Linked DNA regions of Homo sapiens: all the other regions are linked to region 2. Evidence: promoter capture Hi-C in 16 types of primary human blood cells and fetal thymus (Javierre and others, 2016). All regions are on one chromosome and are shown on one strand. Each heading gives the region's core, a stretch centred on a gene start or on the middle of the fragment in contact. The rest is flanking DNA. Distances are from core to core; before and after follow the strand shown.

Evidence for each region. Contacts are between HindIII fragments. The CHiCAGO score rates a contact against its expected background, and 5 or more counts as called.
Region 1: a contact is called between a fragment that was not itself captured here and the fragment with the promoter of PABIR1 in region 2, in 3 of 17 cell types (total B cells, neutrophils and naive B cells). The highest score is 6.5, in total B cells.
Region 3: a contact is called between a fragment that was not itself captured here and the fragment with the promoter of PABIR1 in region 2, in 12 of 17 cell types (megakaryocytes, naive CD4 T cells, erythroblasts and 9 more). The highest score is 15.4, in megakaryocytes.
Region 4: a fragment that was not itself captured here is called in contact with the fragment with the promoter of PABIR1 in region 2 in 12 of 17 cell types (naive CD4 T cells, naive B cells, monocytes and 9 more); the score reaches 9.5 in naive CD4 T cells.
Region 5: a contact is called between a fragment that was not itself captured here and the fragment with the promoter of PABIR1 in region 2, in 16 of 17 cell types (neutrophils, megakaryocytes, activated CD4 T cells and 13 more). The highest score is 14.1, in neutrophils.
Region 6: a fragment that was not itself captured here is called in contact with the fragment with the promoter of PABIR1 in region 2 in 2 of 17 cell types (naive B cells and total B cells); the score reaches 12.8 in naive B cells.
Region 7: a fragment that was not itself captured here is called in contact with the fragment with the promoter of PABIR1 in region 2 in 3 of 17 cell types (total B cells, neutrophils and naive B cells); the score reaches 9.1 in total B cells.

The regions. Positions count from the first base shown.
Region 1 is chr9:68,532,699-68,535,398 of GRCh38, reverse strand. No RefSeq gene overlaps it. Among named protein-coding and RNA genes, the nearest start is that of TMEM252, 6.8 kb to the left of the region's middle. The HindIII fragment of the contact is 971 bases long and covers 855-1,825 here.
Region 2 is chr9:68,778,692-68,781,391 of GRCh38, reverse strand. PABIR1 (PP2A Aalpha (PPP2R1A) and B55A (PPP2R2A) interacting phosphatase regulator 1) reads right to left here and starts at 1,327. Exons shown (of 1, transcript NM_138333.5): 1 at 1-1,327. The coding sequence starts at 1,227. The coding sequence ends at 364. All of the region lies in intron 2 of PIP5K1B (phosphatidylinositol-4-phosphate 5-kinase type 1 beta), which reads right to left. RefSeq lists silencers at 1,067-1,306, 1,424-1,838 and an enhancer at 591-1,419. The HindIII fragment of the contact is 10,001 bases long and covers 1-2,700 here.
Region 3 is chr9:69,020,030-69,022,729 of GRCh38, reverse strand. No RefSeq gene overlaps it. Among named protein-coding and RNA genes, the nearest start is that of PRKACG, 7.3 kb to the right of the region's middle. RefSeq lists a cis regulatory region at 1,659-2,164. The HindIII fragment of the contact is 1,530 bases long and covers 580-2,109 here.
Region 4 is chr9:68,929,286-68,931,985 of GRCh38, reverse strand. All of the region lies in intron 12 of PIP5K1B (phosphatidylinositol-4-phosphate 5-kinase type 1 beta), which reads right to left. Among named protein-coding and RNA genes, the nearest start is that of PRKACG, 83 kb to the left of the region's middle. The HindIII fragment of the contact is 1,133 bases long and covers 740-1,872 here.
Region 5 is chr9:68,983,169-68,985,868 of GRCh38, reverse strand. All of the region lies in intron 14 of PIP5K1B (phosphatidylinositol-4-phosphate 5-kinase type 1 beta), which reads right to left. Among named protein-coding and RNA genes, the nearest start is that of PRKACG, 30 kb to the left of the region's middle. The HindIII fragment of the contact is 355 bases long and covers 1,252-1,606 here.
Region 6 is chr9:68,635,904-68,638,603 of GRCh38, reverse strand. The region is part of intron 4 of TMEM252-DT (TMEM252 divergent transcript); the gene reads right to left. Among named protein-coding and RNA genes, the nearest start is that of PIP5K1B, 68 kb to the left of the region's middle. The HindIII fragment of the contact is 2,273 bases long and covers 205-2,477 here.
Region 7 is chr9:68,553,257-68,555,956 of GRCh38, reverse strand. All of the region lies in intron 2 of TMEM252-DT (TMEM252 divergent transcript), which reads right to left. Among named protein-coding and RNA genes, the nearest start is that of LINC01506, 8.0 kb to the right of the region's middle. The HindIII fragment of the contact is 2,760 bases long and covers 1-2,700 here.

The sequences.
Region 1 (2,700 bases), core at 91-2,590, 250 kb after region 2:
ATAAAAGGAAATCCTTGTCCATGAAGCATGAATTTGGGAATCTGTTATTTGAATCCTTGGCATTGAGGGCATAAAGATATGAAGGTCACTCATGGTTGTCCAATAGGGAAGTGATCATTTATTAGTAATGTAATTTATTATTCCTCTTGTCATCTCTTTCTATCTCTCTACTAAGACAGTTATCCTGAAATTCTCCCTGGTGGTCTGAGCACATTTACTGACTTGAACAAGGACCATCATTGGTCTTTTGTCCAGAATTTGCATTTGTAATAGATAGTTTTTCCAACTACTGGTAGTCAAGTGAAACAAATGTTGATTTTGGTTTACATAAGAAATAGTTTTAATCTCTTTACCGCAATAAATTTTGTACTTAAATTTCTCTTTTGCCATTTTTTTTTTGCATCAGAAAAAAAAATCAATAAAAGACCATAAGTCAAAGTATTATTCTCTGGTTAAACTAACACAGTGTCAGAATGAGTTGATCTTTCTGCAAACCCAAACATTATTGAACTCTAACTGCTGATTTGGAAAATAACTTGGGTGTGTCTTTTTGAAAATAAAATACCAGTAGTTATTTGTTCATTTTTTTAACATTTCATGTAAGGCAGAAATAATATCTTGGCAATGTGAATCAGAGCAGTTTCCAGCGACTGCATATGTACTCTGAATCATGTGTCGAGAACAAGGGTAGGACACAAAGCAAATTCTACATTCGAGAGACCCAGCAATTAAAATCCACTGGACAAATCAGACAAAAATATCCGATTGTGGTTCATAATAATAATATAGTAGTCATCCCCTAGAGGATTCACTCAAGATAAATAGATACTGCCTCTGCTCTTCCTTCTGAAGCTTATAAAATTTACGGTCAAGGATTGGAAACAGCAATTCCATGAATGACAGGGAGAGCACATGCAGCATAAGAAAGTGAAAAGAGAAAAATCCCCACTACAAAGAGTCTTTGCTCATTCTCTTCTCTCACCTGTGGATGGTAGGTTCATATGTCAATGGGGAAGGGAAGTTCTCAGGGTTGAAGGCCCTCCAGTATTGTAATCTCATAATGTCCCTTTGAGCAGAAAGTTTGAGTAGGCCTTACCACCACTCCAGAAGGTGAGGATAAGGTCAGTTATCCTCAATTATAGATTAAGTTATACTGTGTCTTTTGCATATCTGAGATGTACTGTGTTCATTTTCGACCCTCCATGCAAAATCTTACCAGTGCTTTTACTGACACTCCTGTCTATCATTTAAGATTCTATTTAAATATACTGTCTTTGGTGAGGCATTGCTCTAGCTCACCTACATTGTAGGGCACATATTAGGTGCAGATAGGCATGGAAAGATGATAAAGACATGGACTTATAATCTATATCTTCTCCAAATTCTACAAGGTTCCATGACAACCTAGGCTGACTCACATACCAAGTGGGCTGTCAGCTGCATGAGCTATTTCTTCTAGTAAGGACTCCAGCTGGTTGGAGTGGAACAGGCATTCTGCTAAGCTCTGCTGCTTCGGATAATCTCTTGCTGTTTGTAACTGTCAAAGGGCCAAAGGCTGATTTACTGGCAGTTACGTTATTTCCAAAGGCACACCGTTTCTCAGACCCTTCTACACTCAGGGATGGGAAGCTCCTTAAGACATGTGTCTGGGATTTCAGTGTCCACATGTTTTGAGAGTATCCAGTGCATGATCCAGCAATGGAATGGAGTCACACAGTTATGTCATTACCAGCTCCTGCAGGTGCTTTTCAAATTCCCTACACCCATCTGAACGTCAAAGTAAATCCCATGCCTTACACTGATCCATGAGACCGTGCATCAAGCTTCGACTTCCTGTGCAGAAAGCCTGCATGCCACGTGCAAGCCCTTCCACCTATAACGTCATGCAACACGATTTGTCCCGCAAATACTGCGGATGTATGCTGCACTTAGATCAGTAAAAGTTGACAAACGATCTCATTTTAATAATGACTGCCTATCCATTTTCAAGGACATTGAATAAACTCAAGATTCCTGGGTGACACAAAACAAATTTTTGTTCTGGGGGACTGGCTGACACCTGGAAGGATATTTAGCGTGTTTGGTTTCCTACTACTGCCACTAAATGCCTCTCTGGCAAATACACACACATTTCCAAATACCCGCCCTGGTTGAAAACCAGCATGTGATGTATAGTGTTGCTTGCCATTTTTCTGCAGACACGTGCTGTAATGAGTGAACCCCTCTGTAACAGCAGATCACCAGAGTTGCCCTGGAAGTTGCCACACTCTATCCATAGTTTCCTCTGATTGACTCTTGCAGTTCCCATGAAATTTGGGGCCTTTAAAGTCATTTCCTGTTTTTTTTTTTTTTTTTTTTTTTTGAGACGGAGTCTCACATTGTCACCTTGGCTGGAGTGCAATGGCATGATCTCGGCTCACTGCCGTCTCCCGAGTTCACGCAATTCTCCTGCCTCAGCCTCCTGAGTAGCTGGGATTACAGGCACACACCACCACACTCAGTTAATTTTTTGTATTTTTAGTAGAGACAGAGTTTCACTATGTTGGCCAGACTGGTCTCAAACTCCTGACCTCGTGATCCGCCTGCCTCGGCCTCCCAAAGTGATGGGATTACAGGCACGAGCCACTGCGCCCGGTCAAGTCATTTACTCTCAAAGATCAGTGGCTACAGTGGCTACAGCTCTTTTTTTTTTTTTTTTTT
Region 2 (2,700 bases), core at 78-2,577:
ATGCTGATTAAGTCAACATTTATATTTTCATCAGAACTTAATAATCCCATAAATAAATAGAGCTCTCAGTTATTTAAAAAAATCAAGGGATAACATATGTATTTAGACATATTAGCAGCGTAAAGATGTATGCTTCAACACACTTATTGGGGAAACGTCTGAAAATATTACTACACTGAATTCAAGGGTATCCAAAGGAACCTGACATAGAAGTTCTCTAGAATAACATCATTTCAGGGAATTTCAAAAAAGAAAAGGGGTCAAATAGGAAATAGCCTCAAATTAATTGACAAAGTTCAGTGTTTGCCCCAACTAGATTATTCTCTCTCTCCACTGCAAAAAGAAAGTCTCAGGATGAGTGAATCACTTAGACGAAAGTTCATCTAGTGGAATAAATGGAGAAGCCGCTTGGGCAGGTGACACAGGAGAGTCGGTGGTAGTGCTGACTTTCGCTGGTGAGTTACAAGAAGATCCGGCACTGCTGCTGTTTCCATCAAGGGTATCCGAAGATACACACACACCAGGATCTGACAGCTGTGCAACGTCAGAAGAAAGCATGTTGGTGATGCCCTGGAAAAATCTCTTTGGCTGATATTCAGTTTCCATTTCACATTTTCTTTTCAATGGTCCAAGAACACTTGGTCTAATGCAATTGATGGGGCTCTGGCTTCTCCGGGTGGTAAATCGGGTCGTTGGGCTGGGAATAGGGCTTGGAGGCAATCCGTTGCTACTTACAAAACTTTGCAAGGATGGCGAAAAACACTGCTTCCCAATTCCCCGAGTGGGTGACGGTGCTGGTGACACAGGAATGAAATCGATGCGCTTGGGGGAGGCGGATTTCTCCACGTCGTTGTCACTCAGGCTGAAACTTTCCTCCCAGGAGTGGCTTATCTGCATTGCGGTCTGCACCTCCCGTTCGTGGACCGTCTCTCGGTTGATCAAGTCCATGCCCTCTTCTTGTTTGATCTGGTGCAAGCGGCTGCTGTGCATGCGGACAGGGGAGGCCGGCAGCAGCAGGCCGTGGCGGCTCGGGAACGTTGTGCTGTTCCGCCTGGCGCTCGGCGCCTCGGCCTGGAACACCGGCGAAGTGTCACTGAGGCCGTGGATCAGGGGGGCGCTGTTAGACCTCCTGAGGCCCCCGCCGCCGCCGCTGCCACCGCCCTCCGCCGGGCTCCCGCCCGTACCCGGAGGCAGCTCCAGGTCTAGCTCCATCTTCTCCTGAGCCATGTCGGGGGCAGGGAGGCGGGGGAGGTGCTCAGTCAGGGACCTAGGATTCCCATTCCCCGCAGTCCAGGGCCGCCGCCGCTGCCGCCGCCACCGAGAATCTGTCAGCGGGCTGGCCCCTCTGCGCATGCGTAGCCCTTCGCGCAGGCGCTCGCGATGTCCGTACTCGCGGCGCCTGCTTAATGCGTAATATGTGCGCGGCAGTGGTAGGGGAGGGGCGAGGAGTGGTCGGGCCGCTAGTCCGTATATTCCTTCGGCAAATAGCTATTGAGCGCAAGCTCGCGTTGACGCATGTCAATAAGATTGTCATATTCTGGATTGCATACTCATAAAACAAAGCCCTGAAAGAGAGGCCCATGGTGATGTGGGGCTGTATGACGTGGAGTGGCGCTTGGCCTAATCAGGGAGGGCTTCCTCGAGGAAGGAACAATCTCCTGAAATCTGAAGAAGTGGGCGAAATGGGTGCGATGTAGAACTTTGCAGGAAGCGGGAAGCAACGGCTACCCAGCCAGTTGGCAGGCGGGAACCAGGAGGGGAGGAGAAAGTGTGGCCTGGAGTGGAGAGTGAGGGCTGGCCTGACGTGAGGTGGTGGACCAGACCACATTCTGGTCTTTATCTTGAGAACAATGAAAACTTAAAGGGTTTTCAAGCATGGGTGTAACAGCAACTGAAAAGCTCACTGGCCTGCAGTCTGGAGAATACATATTGGGAGATTAAAACCTTACAGAAAAAAGGCCAGAGAGGATGGTCATTTGCACTAAGGTGACAGTGTGGCAGTGGAGATGGAGAGAAAAGTAAATCTGAGAACTATTTAGGTTAGGGGAAGAAGCCAAAACAGAGGATGGTATTGCTATTGATTTACAGTCATAGTTCCAGCACAAGCATATGTGTGAAGTATGAAGGATTAAACCAGTAGGTCCTCACATTTTAAAAATGAAACCACAATTCTTGGCTCATGTAATTAATATAAAACCTTGATATCTCATTAAAAGTGAGTTTATTTGTTCATTTATTCAGTCAGTCAAGGTTTTTTTTTTTCAGCATACTTACTATGTGCCAAACACTGCTAGGAAATGGGCCCTAGTATGAACTTTTAATTCTTACTGAGGGGAAAATAGAGAAACGCAGGCTATTTTCAGATAGTGGTAAGCCTTAGGAAAAGTAAGATGGTGTGATGGAGCACTACTGATAGAAGTCAGGGGACAATTAGAGTTGAGATCTAAATGACAAGAAGCAGTAAGTCACGTGGACATCTGGGGAATGAGTATTCCAAGCAGAGAGAATAGCAAGTGCTAAGGCCGGAGGCAGCCATGAGTTTGATGAGTTAGCAGAAAAAGAAAAAAGGGCAGTGCCGCTGAAGCATAAGAGCGGGAGTGTTAGGAGAGGGTAAGAGTTGGATCTCATTCTGAATATGATGAAACGCCACTGGAGGGTTTTAAGCAGGGGACTGATATTATCTGGTTTATGTTTTAAATA
Region 3 (2,700 bases), core at 95-2,594, 240 kb before region 2:
ATCTGAAGACCTGGAAGCAATAGAAAGGAGTGTCTGGGTTAAGATAAGGGGTTGTGGAGACCAAGGTTCTTATTGTATAGATCAAGTCTCATAGGTAGCTTAGAGATTATAGATGCAAATATTTCCTATGCAGACCTTTAAAAGGTAGGTATTAGACTCTCAGTTAATCTCTTCAGGGATTTGGAGGGCCTGGAAAAGGAAAGATCCACTTATGTTAAAAGAGATTTTTGGGCCGGGCACAGTGGCTCATGCCTGTAATCCCAGCACTTTGGGAGGCCGAGGAAGGTGGATCACAAGGTCAGGAGATCAAGACCATCCTGGCTAACAGGGTGAAAACCCGCCTCTACTAAAAATACAAAAAAGAAAAAAAAATTAGCCGGGCGTGGTGGCATGCACCTGTAGTCCCACCTACTCGGGAGGCTGAGGCAGGAGAAGCGCTTGAACCTGGGAGGCAGAGGTTGCAGTGAGCCGAGATTGCGCCACTGCACTCCAACCTGGGCGACAAAGTGAGACTCTGTCTCAAAAAAAAAAAAAAAAGATTTTTTTACAGATGTAAATTCTCCCCCACAAAAGAAAGCTTTGCAGGGCCATTTCAAAATATAGCAAGGAAACATATTCTGGAACTAACTTTGGGAGGAACTTAGTTTATAGTTTAACTTTGAAACAAGGACGATAACAGCCCTTTCCCAAAACAAACCCCCTTCCTGCCTGGGGACTAGACTGCCTTTACAGAACCAACACATTAGCCACAAGATTAGAAATTATGGTTTAGGAGTCATGCAACTGAAGGCGGCCAGATTCTGAACCTCCCCAAATTGCTCCTGGGGATAACATCACTATTGTAAAATCTAAGATCAGGGCTTGAGATATTTTGCAGACCCTGCACTCAGTGGATCAGCTGGCACCACCCAGACCAATCAACTGGCTCATCTGATCTTGTGTACCCCCCAGCAGGAACTGACTCCGCACAAGAGGACACCTTTGATTCCCTGATTTCATCTCTGACCTGACCAATCAGCACTCCCGACTCACTGGCCTGTGCCCACCAAATTATCCTTAAATACTCTGATCCCCGATTCTTAGGGAGACTGATTTGAGTACTAATAAAACTCTAGTCTCCCATACATCTGGCTCTGTGTGAATTACTCTTTCTCTATTGCGATTCCCCTGTCTTGATAAATCGGCTCTGTCTAGGCATTGGGCAAGGTGATCCCATTGGGCGGTTACAAACTACAAAAGGGAGAGGGTATAATGAGGCATGTCTGACCCCTACCCCTTCCTGGAGTGGCCTGAACTAGTTTTGCAGGTTTCTTTGGACTCCCCTTGGCTAAGAGGGGGGTCCATTTAGTCAGTTGGGGGGCTTTGAATTTTAGTTTTGGTTTACAAACCCATCCATCATTGTTTTTGTTGTTGTTGTTGTTGTTGTGAGACGGAGTCTTGCTCTGTTTCCAGGCTGGAGTGCAGTGGCGCGATCTTGGCTCACTGCAACCTCCACCTCCTGGATTCAAGCAATTCTCCTGCCTTAGCCTCCGCAGTAGCTGGGACTACAGACGTGCACCACCACGCCCGGCTAATTTTTGTATTTTTAGTAGAGATGGGGTTTCACCATGTTGGCCAGGATGGTCTCGATCTCTTGACCTCATGATCTGCCCGCCTCAGCCTCCCAAAGTGCTGGAATTACAGGCATGAGCCACCACCGCGCCCGGCATCCATCCATCATTGTTTGTTGAGCGTCCACAGTTCCAGGCACTGTGGTTGCTGATGATATAGTGGTAACAAAGATTGATAATCAACATGTTCTCATGGAGCTCACAGTCTTGCGGAGAGAGATGATAACGTAAAAGTATTTACAAAGTCACATAAGTGCTAGATGGGGTAATTATAGGATACTACAGGAGCATATGAGAGTGGCCTGGTCTTGACTTGGTGGGGGTGGTGACAGCATGAGTTTCTGAGATCAGAGAGATGAAGAGTTGGCCAGGTGAAAGAGGGCAAGGAGGAAAGAGCATAGCAGAGGGGACAGTATGTACAGACCCAGAGGCCAGATGTCCTCATCTAGTACAGTGTTGGAGAGGCTGAAAAAGGGAGATTCTCAAACAGACTCAAGCTTGGATGCATTGGGCCCTAGCTCCTGGGGTTCTGCAGTTCTGAAAGGTCTGCAGTTTACCCCTAGGGTTGCAATCTTCTTATTCTTTTTTAACTCCAGGTTAGGCACTTCCATCCCTCACAGTTCAGGTTCAGCTCCAGCCCTCTTTGTCCCTTATAATGCATACAAACTCTTCAAATCTCCTGCATTTCCTGAATTATGGAACTGGTCACTGGATACCCCCTTTTCCTTGCTGTATTTGTATAGCTTTCTTTTGTCTTCAAGAGCTCTCTAATTATTAAGATAATTGAATTGGGACCTCTCACTTCTCAGCTCTTTGTTCTATAGGCTATAAAGCATTTTGGGGCTCCTTCTGGGAAAACATTAATCGATTTAAATCAAGGGCATGCACCCAAATGCTGCAGGGGCCAGGCAGGTGCCAGAAATGAGTGCCCTATGGAACACTTAGCCTTCCTGGGCTGCCTTTTTCTTTCTTGCTCTGCTGGAGACATGGCATAAGCACTATTTTACTTTTAACGCTAATGTAAAAAAAAAAAAAAAAACCCACAGAGCCAACAGGATGATAAGCAGCAACTGTCATTAGCTCTGTGCAG
Region 4 (2,700 bases), core at 57-2,556, 150 kb before region 2:
CTCAAGTGGTGAGTTTCTTCCTTAAAGGAATGATCTCACTCAGCAGATAAGAGCTTGGATTTTGCAGAAATTTAATTCTCAGGATCTCTTTTGACTGGGTAACATTGAGAGCTGGTTTGGGTGGCTGGTTGCTTCCTTTTGTGTGGCAGAAACGCCTAGATTTGTCTTTGGCTCAACCATGGCTGGCAGTAGGTATCCTGTGTCCATTTCTAGCCTTGCATTCTGCCACTCGACTGCCTCCATGTTCACTTTTCAGCTCACCCTTCTGCCATATTGGAACCTACCATGTTCATTCTGCCCTTAGGCCTTTGCACATGCTGTTCTTTCTCCTTGAGATGCCCTTCCTGTCTCTCTTCTTAATGAACTCTGGGTTACATTTTCAGGATTTAGTTGAAATATCTTTTTCTCTGTGAGCTCTCTTTTGGAAGAATTGGTCTTTTTTTCTCTTATTTCTCTCCGCGTACCCATAGTAGCATATGCAGAAATATTAGCAATTGTTTCATTACAGATCTGTCACATGTTTCAATCTCCGGCTCAAAAGAGACTATTAAATTATTGAGGGAGGAACTAATCAATATTTAAAAAGCTTTCTATATCATCAGTGCTTAGTGTAGTGCTAGATACATAATAGGTGCACGAGTGTTTGTTCATGAATGCATTATTGTTCTGAAGTTTTAGAACAGTTAATTTTCTCTAACAAATTAATTTAACTCTTATATTCTATTCAGGAAACTAAGCTTTAGTACTTTAGACAAATTATTCGTATGGAGAATTTCAGTGAAGTTTCAACATAATGGTGGCTAATATTTCCAGGAAATATTATAGGATTTTGTAGACATTATTACACCGGCAGCATGACTCACTTGTGGGTGGGATGAAGGGATTTAAAAAGGTTAAAAAACACTGACTTCAAAAAAGAAACTTGAAGACCAGGTACTATTTTCTTGGTGGGAGGGGAGTATGCCTTTAGGCATTAAGGGCTTTAAATTAACCATGGTTGATGGAACATCTTAAAGTTAACTCAAGTGTCTACTTTTCTAATAATTTAATTACCCTTTGAAATGGTGGTGTTAGATAAAAATTCCATTCATTCATTGCATTATTCATCAAATAACCATTGAGTGTCTACTGTGTGCCAGGAAATGTGTTAAGTGAAAGTTAAGGACTTTGGGCACCAGGGAATCCATGGACGTTTATTTCCTTTAGCATTATTATTATTATTATTATTAGCATGGAAGGGTTTTAACAGAAATCAGCAAGAGCAGATTTATATTTTAAACTGATTCCTCTAGCTGCAGTGTGTGTGTGTGGAAATTGGATTGAATGGGTACATGATGGGAGGCAAAGAGACCTGTTTGGGGCCACAACTTTATGCAAAAAAAAAAATAATAATAAAACCTGCAAACCAAAAAACACAGTGGCTGAATCAGGAGAGGTACTGTGAGAGAAGGGGCTGCAATCCTGATACTGCAGAGTGAGGACTGATAGGTGTTGCTGAGTAACTGCACGTGGGTGGTAAGCAGAAGGAAGGGGTCAAGGGATGATGGCAGCATTCTGGCTGGGTAATTGGGTGGATTGTGGTGGTCTTCCATAAGACGTGGACCCAGGTAGAGAGGCAGACTCTGGGGTGGTAAGTGGCTAAATTCAATTTTGGGCATGCTGAGCTTGTGGAATCTAGTGGATGCTTAAGTTTGGGGAGTGGACAGGCAAGGGGAATTGCTAGAAGTGTGGGGAGTAAGTTGCAAGTACACAGATGGTAACTGAACCCTTGGGAGAACAGGGAATTACCCAGAGTGCTGTATAAGAAGAGACCGAGTCAGAGCCTGGACCCTGAGGAGCAACCACAATAAGAGTAAGCAGGGATGAAAAGCTTCCAAAGGATACCAAGGAGGAGAAGAGAGGCTGGAAGGCAACCAGGGAAGTCCTGAGTTACGAAAGACAAGCGAAGAGCGTTATTTCACAGAGAACTGCTATCAGTGGTCTCACATGCTGGAGAGTTTTAAGAAGACTGAAAGAGGCTGGGTGCGGTGGCTCACACCTGTAATCCCAGCACTTTGGGAGGCCAAGGTGGGTGGATCACTTGAGGTCAGGAGTTCAAGACCAGCCTGGCCAACATGGCAAAACCCTGTCTCTACTAAAAATACAAACATTAGCTGGGTGTGGTGGCGCATGCCTGTGGTCCCAGTTACTCTGGAGGCTGAGGCAGGAGAATCACTTGAACCTGGGAGGCAGAGGTTGCAGTGAGCTGAGATAGTGCCACTGTACTCCAGCCTGGGCAACAGAGTGAGACTCCATCTCAAAAAAACAAAAACAAAAACAAAAACAAAAAAAACTGAAAGTTGTTCAATGGCTTGAGCAATGATTGTTGATTACTTCAAAAAGAACATTTTGGTAGAGTGGTGGGATCAAAAGCCACTGGAGAACACTGAATAGTGACAAGAAATAAAAAAAGTGAGACAGCAAGTACATCCAACTCTCATCTCCAATAGGGTGACAGTGAAGGAGGAAAAAGATACACCAGGAACTGAAGAGAGACAGATCGTTGAGGAGGTTTGTTTCTATGATATATGAGAATGAGCAGATAGAAGGATGAGGTGTGGAGCCAGAAGAGGGAGTGAATGGTTAAAATTACCCTGTAGTGGAGATAATCTCTACAGGGATCTGTCCTGGACCTTAAGGAGAAGATCGGACCCAGTATAC
Region 5 (2,700 bases), core at 180-2,679, 200 kb before region 2:
ACATATTACATAATTTCATTTATGCAAAATGTCTAAGAACAGACAAATCTAAGGAGACAGAAAAGCAGACTCATGTCTCTGGCTTGATGACATGAGAGAGTTGGGTTCTGAGATTTCGAGCTCTCTGGTGAAGAGACTGTGAGTGCAGGCCCGTGGAGGCCTGGGGAGCCATCTGCAATGTCCCAGGGCACATGCTGGTATAGTGCAGGCATGGGCCAGAGCACCTCCATCCTGGGGATGTCCTGCCCAGAGGTTACACACTGCTGTCCCACAAACCCAGTCTGGCTGGAAGAACTGTTTTGAAGAAGAGATCTGTTGGCCAGGTGTGGTGGCTCATGCCTGTAATCCCAGCACTTTGGGAGGCCGAGGCAGGTGGATCGCCTGAGGTCAGGAGTTCAAGACCATCCTGGCCAACATGGCAAAATCCTGTCTCTACTAAAAATACAAAAATTAGCCAGGCGTGGTGGTGGGAGCCTGTAATCCCAGTTACTTGGGAGGCTGAGGCAGGAGAATTGCTTGAATCCGGAAGACGGAGGTGGCAGTGAGCCGAGATCGCACCATTGCACTCCAGCCTGGGCGACAGAGTGAGACTCTGTCTCAAAAAAAAAAAAAAAGAAGAAGAGATTTTAGTTTGAATTATTGCCAAATTGAGGAAAAGGAAATTCCCACAAAAACCCAGTTTCTTTTGAGACATGAGAAGAGTGGCCAACTGTAAGCCTACATTTCTGAGTAGCAGTGAGATTGCAGCTGCCTTCCTTAGACCGAGCATGTCCTCTGCATTGCTGCAGGGTCCCCACCTCACTCGAGCATCCCACCCAGCCTGTTACACTCATACACGCAATCCCTCCCCATGTGTCTGCCCAACATCTCTACTTCCAGGATGAGGCCCAGGGAGGTGCAGCGGCTTGCCTGGGTTACATGGTCCCTAAACAGAGTTAGGATCTGAACTCTTTTCCAATTAACTACCCTTTTTTACAGTCATTGCTGCTAACATTTTAGAAATTTGTCATTGCAGAAACAAAAGTAGTGTACGCAAATGTGCCTAGGAGCTTGAAAATAATTACAGAATACCCACAAAAACAAATATGGTATATGATGTTTGGTGTTAGCTGTGGAGATCTTTGTTCTTTTGGGAAGAGTAACAATGAACAGAAAGTTTTGAGGAAAAGTAAGCAAAATATGCTTTCTAAAACAACATATTTAAAACAATGGATATTAAGATTGAACAATGAAAATAATGCTACTTAAGCTTCCAACAATTTAATATTTAAACCAAATTATACATATAAAAGAATTTGGGAGAATATACAGCCCTAAATGAATAATCAGGCATTTATACAGTAAAGTACCATTAAATGTATTCTGAATAATCTGAAATTATTATTGTCTTGGTATTGAGTGTAAGCTACATAACCAATTAATTAATCTTTCTATTTGTTATCCTCATTATGCAGGATCTACCAAGTGAGACCACAGCACAGAATGGCATGTTACTTGCCTAAAAATCTTAGATTAGATACTACCTAGCACCCAAAAAAGGATGAGAATACATTTTCAGGAAACAGGCACCTGAGCTGAGAAAGCATTAACAGGCAGAGCATAAGCTTTGGAATCAGATGAATCTGACTTTCAATTCTGGCTCTTGGACTTAGTTGTATGTGATACTGGGTAAGTTTCTTAACCCTTCTGAGTAAGAGCTCCAGTTTCCCATATGTAAAATGAGAATAATAATACAGAACGAGTAGGGTTGTTGGAGTGATTTGTGGTAATGAATGTAGGATGCAAATATTTAGTTATTTAATTTGTATTTTTTAGAGACAGGGTATTGCTCTGTCATCCAGGCTGGAGTGCAGTGTTGCAATCTTGGCTTGCTGCAGCCTTGGACTCCTGAGCTCAAATGATCCTCCTGCCTCAGCCCCCAAGTAGCTGGGACTAAAGGCATGTGCCACCATGCCTGGTGTTTCTTTTTAAAATTTTTTTGGTAGAGATGAGGTCTCCCTATATTGCCAAGGCTGGTGTCAAACTCCTGGGCTCAAGTTATCATCCCAAAGGCCAAGAGTTTAAGAGTCTGGCTGCCTGCCGATGTGCTGCACCATTAAGTTTTGCCACAGTTCTCTCGATTCAGACTGTCTGAGGGCTAATTGCACACAATTTGCAACAAGCCACACAGGCCTGTAATGCACTGCCATTACAGGCATGAGCTACTACTGCTCCCAGCTGCAAATAGTTATTGAGTATCCATGTATGCACACTGCACCTAGAATGGATTCTAGCACCTAGAATACAGAGATCAAATTTTAAAAGTCTGTGCCTGATGGAACTTACATAGTATTAAAGAAGACAGACAATGAGATAAGTATTTAAAATATGTATTATGTTGGTCAAAAGTGCTAAGGAGAAAAAAAAAACACACACACAGAAAAAAGATAGGAAGTGAGTAGCAGAAGCCAACTCCAAACAGCAAACTCTCCTTGCTCTGCCATCATAGGATCTCAGGCATGAGCCACATCCTCCACAGGACACTTATCAAGCCCTCCCAAGTGTCCCTGGGTGGGGACAGACACCTCTGATCAACAGTTCTCTCTAAAGATCACATTCTAACTGCCACTCTTTTCTTGGCCTCAATAACCTCTTTTAAAGGCTGGAGGTGGGTAGTCAGCTGAGGGCTGTAGAGCTGATTTTCTGCCATTCAAAAACCAG
Region 6 (2,700 bases), core at 92-2,591, 140 kb after region 2:
AAAAAAAATACTTCTTAGCTCACCAAACAGATTTTCCTCCAGAGCCTGGTATAGGAGGCAAAGGACCCATATAGGGCAAGTTCCAGATACAGAAGGAACTGGTCTTCGCCTCCTTCTGGTTCTGGTGTTCTCTTTGACCACCCTTTTCTATTTCCAATTATTTTTCTCTGAATTTAGTTTTTGCAAGTGGAAGATACAGAAGCTTTATGAGCAGAATAAAACAACCAGGGTTGGCAGCCTTGCTCTCAACCCTCTAGCTGTGTGTGATCTTTGAGGAGGATGATAGCAAACCTTGGTTCAGCATGTCTTGTGTGCTAGGTGATGTGTTAGATGATGTGCCAGGCATTGGGTGTGTGTTAAGTCATTGCATCTTCACAAGTAAGGTGGGTCATTACCTATTACCACTGCCCTTTTGTGACAAAACAGAGGCTTAGTGAGATTAAGTAATTTGTCTAAAGTCACACTGCTGGTCAATAGCAGAGCTGGGACCCCAGCACAGATGATGTGACCTCCAAGTCTGCTCTTAGCCCATGCATTACTACTTCCCAAGTCACTGGACTTCTTGGAGCTCCAGTTTCCTCATTTGCAAAGCATTCATAAATATTTAATGAATATTAAATAAATATAACAAAATATTCATAAATATTCATACTGTCTCCTATGGTAGAGAGTAGGGAGAAGTAATGTGATAATGTAAGTAAAACATCTAGCCTGTCCTTGGACATACTGAGTATTCAGAAGAAGCATCATTATTAGTTTTTGCCATTCAAAAACAGTGAATGCTGAAATTGGCTCTGTCTTGGTTTATGGCTTTACACTTCTTTGAGGATTCTGTAGACACTCTGGAAGCACGGAGGACACTTAACATATTCTCGTATCTTTCTCAACCTCTGTGATTTTTTTTTTGAGACAGAGTCTCACTCTGTCACCAGGCTGGAGTGCAGTAGCGTGATCTCAGTCCACTACAACCTTTGCCTCCTGGGTTCAAGCGACTCTCCTACCTCAGCCTCCTGAGTAGCTGGGATTACAGGCATGCGCCACCGCGCCCAGCCAATTTTTGTATTTTTAGTAGAGATGGAGTTTCACCATGTTTGCCAAGCTGGTCTCAATCTCTTGACCTTGTGATCTGCCTGCCTCAGCCTCTCAAAGTGCTGGCATTGCAGGTGTGAGCTACCATGCCCGGTCAGTGATTTTTTTTTTTTTTTTTAATGACACACAACTATTTTTTAACTTCTCTTTCTCTTTCTCTTTTTCTATTTGTCTTTTGCATAGCTTTTCAGATCTCACTGAAGGTGAAACCAGGAAAGTACTTCACTCAGAGGTGAGTGTATAGGTAATAAATATGTGGAACAAGACTCTATTGTCCTCAGGTAAAGGTGGGTGACCCTAGGTGCCCTTAGGTAAGCCATTAAAAACTGTTCTACCAAATACTCACATACTGGGCAGGTGTTTGAGCAGGTGTGGCAGCCTTGGGGCAGATGCCGAATGTGGCACACAAGAGGTTAGTGGATATAGTTACACCTTCATAAAACAAATGCTATCTCCCCTGCCGGGTCTTAGCTACAGAGGCGAAAAATGAATATTTTAATTAGTTTCAGCTTCCAAAAGAGTCGTAGGCCAGACTTCCGAATCTGCCTCCTATAGGGAAAACACTTTCAAATTCTACCACTTGGCAAAAAATCCCTCCCAAATAAAACCCCAAAACAAAAATTACATTTCTAACTAAACAAGTAACTGTGCTTCTTAGACAGACAGCTTCATTACGCATTCAGCAGCTTGGATTGACACAATCTTGGGCAAAAGGGGAAGAGGCAAGAGGTGAAGCTGAGCTGTGTTTGGAAGTACAGCTCATAAGGATGGCAGAGAGATTGGAAGGGGTGGGGAAAAATCAAAGCTGATTCCTATTTTTTTCTCCCTGAGCAACTTGTTAGATTATTTAGGTCAATGATGCTTTTAGGAATTAAAATTTTGCATTTTAATATCAGTTTCACTTTTTCAAAGAGCTTTCGTCTCTCCACCCCTGTTGACATAAATGATCACACTGAGTTTTATCTAGGTTAGTTTTAGAAGAGACTAAGTTCAGGGATTTCTGAGATAAAGAGAGGAATTTTATTTTATTTCTTTGCCTCAGGTAGCATTCAATATATAAATATTTCTCTTCATTAAATCCTAATCAAGTTTAACTAAACTTTCAAGACAGATGGGGAGATGTTATTTTAATTATAAAAGGTATCCACACAAACTTCTTTAAAGCAGTGGAGTTTTTTTGGTATTCATTTATGTATTCAACAGATATCTTTGAGCTCTGACAATGTCCAAACACTGTACTGAGTGCTCCACGCACAGTGCTGCAGTGAGCAGCCTCTGGAGATGTGTGTGAAACATGCAGATATGGTTCTGAATCATGATAGATAGAAGGAGCGGGAATAATGGTAGGTGGAGAAAAGCCCCTTTGTTTTGGGTGGTCAGTCAAAGCTTCTATGAGGGAAGAATATTTATGCCAAGACTTGGCAGATACCAGGGACCCAGTTGGGTAAAGAATGAAGCAAAGAGAAGAGAGGAGAGCAGGAATGCATTTCTGGAATAAGGAACAGCATTTGCAAAATTCTGGAGGTGTAAAAAGTTTGGCAAGTTTGAGAAACAAGCAGTGGGGCTGGAGCGTAGGGAATCGGGGGAGAGGCTGAAGAGCTGAAGATGAGG
Region 7 (2,700 bases), core at 123-2,622, 230 kb after region 2:
TTGCAGAATTTCCAGTTCTACCCCCTTCCTGCTGAATCAGAGTCTGCACTTTCTTGAGATTCCCCAAATGATCCATGTGGCCATGTGTGAGAAGCCCTGGCCTAGATGGCAAGGGGGCCCATGGTGTCTGCTATGTTGACTCAGGTCACCCTGCTGTTTGTCCATTCCTTCTCCCACTTGTACTTCCATCACAAATCCCACAGCACCACACATGCTTTGCAAGGTTTTGCTCCATTAACAAGTCCTCTTTCATTTTCCACAGAAGGAGGCAGAACAGAGTCTTAGTGTAAAGGCAGCAACCTTCCAGCTGTGACTAGCCCAAGCCATCAGCATTGTTCCTTTCAATTACCCTGTTCCTGGGAGGCATGAAATTCTAGCTAAGGGCTGACAGGGTCACTTGGCTGCTGAAAAGTTCTGTATTTAACAACTCTAGGTGGGGTTTGGGGTTTTGTTGGCTTGTTTTTAATTTTTTTTTTTTATTTTTTAGTATAGCTGCTTTTACTTAGTGCACAAGATTGCATGCTCTAGATTAGAACTTCTATACACAGGGACTGTGAGGCAACCCTCACCCTGAGGCCCCAGAAAATATTAAGTATTAGAATAAGCTCGCATGCAGCAAGTTCTCTCCAGTGTTTGAGGCTCTGAGGCTTAAAGAGACAAACAGAGAGCCTAGGAAATTTTCAGAGAAGAACAAATTTGCTTAAAGAATGGGAGGACCAAACCTAAGAGGGAATGTTAAAATCATTCACATACCTGAGGCTCAAGAAAGGAAGAAAGAGAAGTAATTAAACATGTAGAATTAGATAACATTTTACTGAGGCATCACCCAACCAGTTCTCTTCAGTAATATATGCTCTTTCTTTATTTAAAAAAATCAGTTGTGCATACTCAGAATTTGATAAATTATGAAAGGATTAATATATAATGCCTTCCTTGACTTTCTTCCTACCCATACATTCATTCATATTTATTGATTACCTGTTATGTACCAGATACTCTGTTCTGACAATCTTGTTATTTTACTCTACTTAACATGAGAATATATTCTTCTAAAAAAACATAAATGTGTCAAGATGGAAACATTAATCAATTTGAGACAAGAACATTTCTGATTTAGCTCTAATAAAATGTAGCAATTTCAATATAAAGGGCACTGTTTCCTTGTGTGGCATTCAGACTTTTATACTCTGTCCCCAGATGACTTTTCAGTCTCTCGTTTCATTCCTAGTCTCATTTACCTGCTGGTCCTGTCCCATCAGTCTACTCATCTTTGCCTTGAACTCACCAGACCCTTTCATGCAGTTCCCTTAGTTTAAGTACTTTTCTCCCTAAAATACCTTTTGATGCTTTAAAACCCTTTAAACTTTAGGAATGCATCTGTAGTATTCTCTGCAAAGGATTCTGGAGTCTCACCATTTTAAATTAATCATTCTTTCCTCTGTCTTCCTTGAACATGGTGCTTTTACTACAGTTGCACTCTTACCTGCTTTGCATTGTGGTTGCTTGTTTGCATGGCTCACGGTAAGTTTTCAAAGGACAAAGAGCATAACTCATTCTTTGTGTTCCCTCCAGCACTTAGTTACATTCCTGGTGAGGTAGAATTAATGGTGCCCACCAAATATTTCTAGCTATTTGAATCTTCTGGGCCTACAGTAGATTTACACTTCTTGGTCCCCTGTGGTTGGTTGGGGACATGTGACCAGTTATTGCTAATGAGTTATAACAAAGCGATGTGTGAAACCTGTGGGCCAAAATTTTAATTGTCAATGCAAGACCCTTCAGTGTCATCTGTTCTCTTGGCTATTGTGACTATTTGTGTTTAGGAAAATAGCTACTCCCTCAGCTGCATCCTAAAGTGAAGAAAAGGTCAACTTAGAGCAAAGATTTAGCTGACCTATGATGGACTCTGTGAGAGAACAAGGAATACATTTTTGTCATTTAAAACCATGGAGATATGAGGTTGTTTGCTACAAAGCAAATCCTAGCCCATCCTGATTCATACACTTGTAAATGACAGGTGTTTGATAAATACTGTGAATCTAAAATATTTTGCAAATCTATTAGAAGTAGCAATTAATAATTTTATCATCAATTGTAAATGTATTACGTAAAATTGCAAATGTTAAAATCAGCTGTGCAGAGAGACATTGTGATGTAAGGTGAAGAGTGTAGGACATAGAGCCAGTAGGGATGGGTTTGTAAAGTGGCTCTAAATGACCTCGAGGAGGTCACTGATACTCTTAGGACTCAGCATCCTTCAGTCTTAAAGGGAACTTACCTACACTGCAATATTGTTGTGATAATTAAAGATAGCAAAAGTAAAATTGCCTGGTACATGTTGGTACTTGGTACATAATTATTATGATTGTTTTAGGTGTATTTTTCATATTGGACCATGTGAAAAGTGAAAAACACGAGAAACTGTACATAGTTCAGTTTAAACCAAGATATACCCTGCTATTCTTTCCTATAGATCAGCAGCAATTTTCTCCCTCCTTCCTTCTTCTACCCATTTTTCAAAAACTAAAAAATGTGGGCCCCTATTGATTTTTAAAAAGATAATGAACATTATATATGTATATGAAGGTACAATAATTTATGTCTAAGTCTCATTCAGAGAAAAAAATATTGGTCATGAATTATTCAGCTTCTTCTTGGGCTAGGCATTAGTGACTCACATTAAATAAACAGATGCATTGA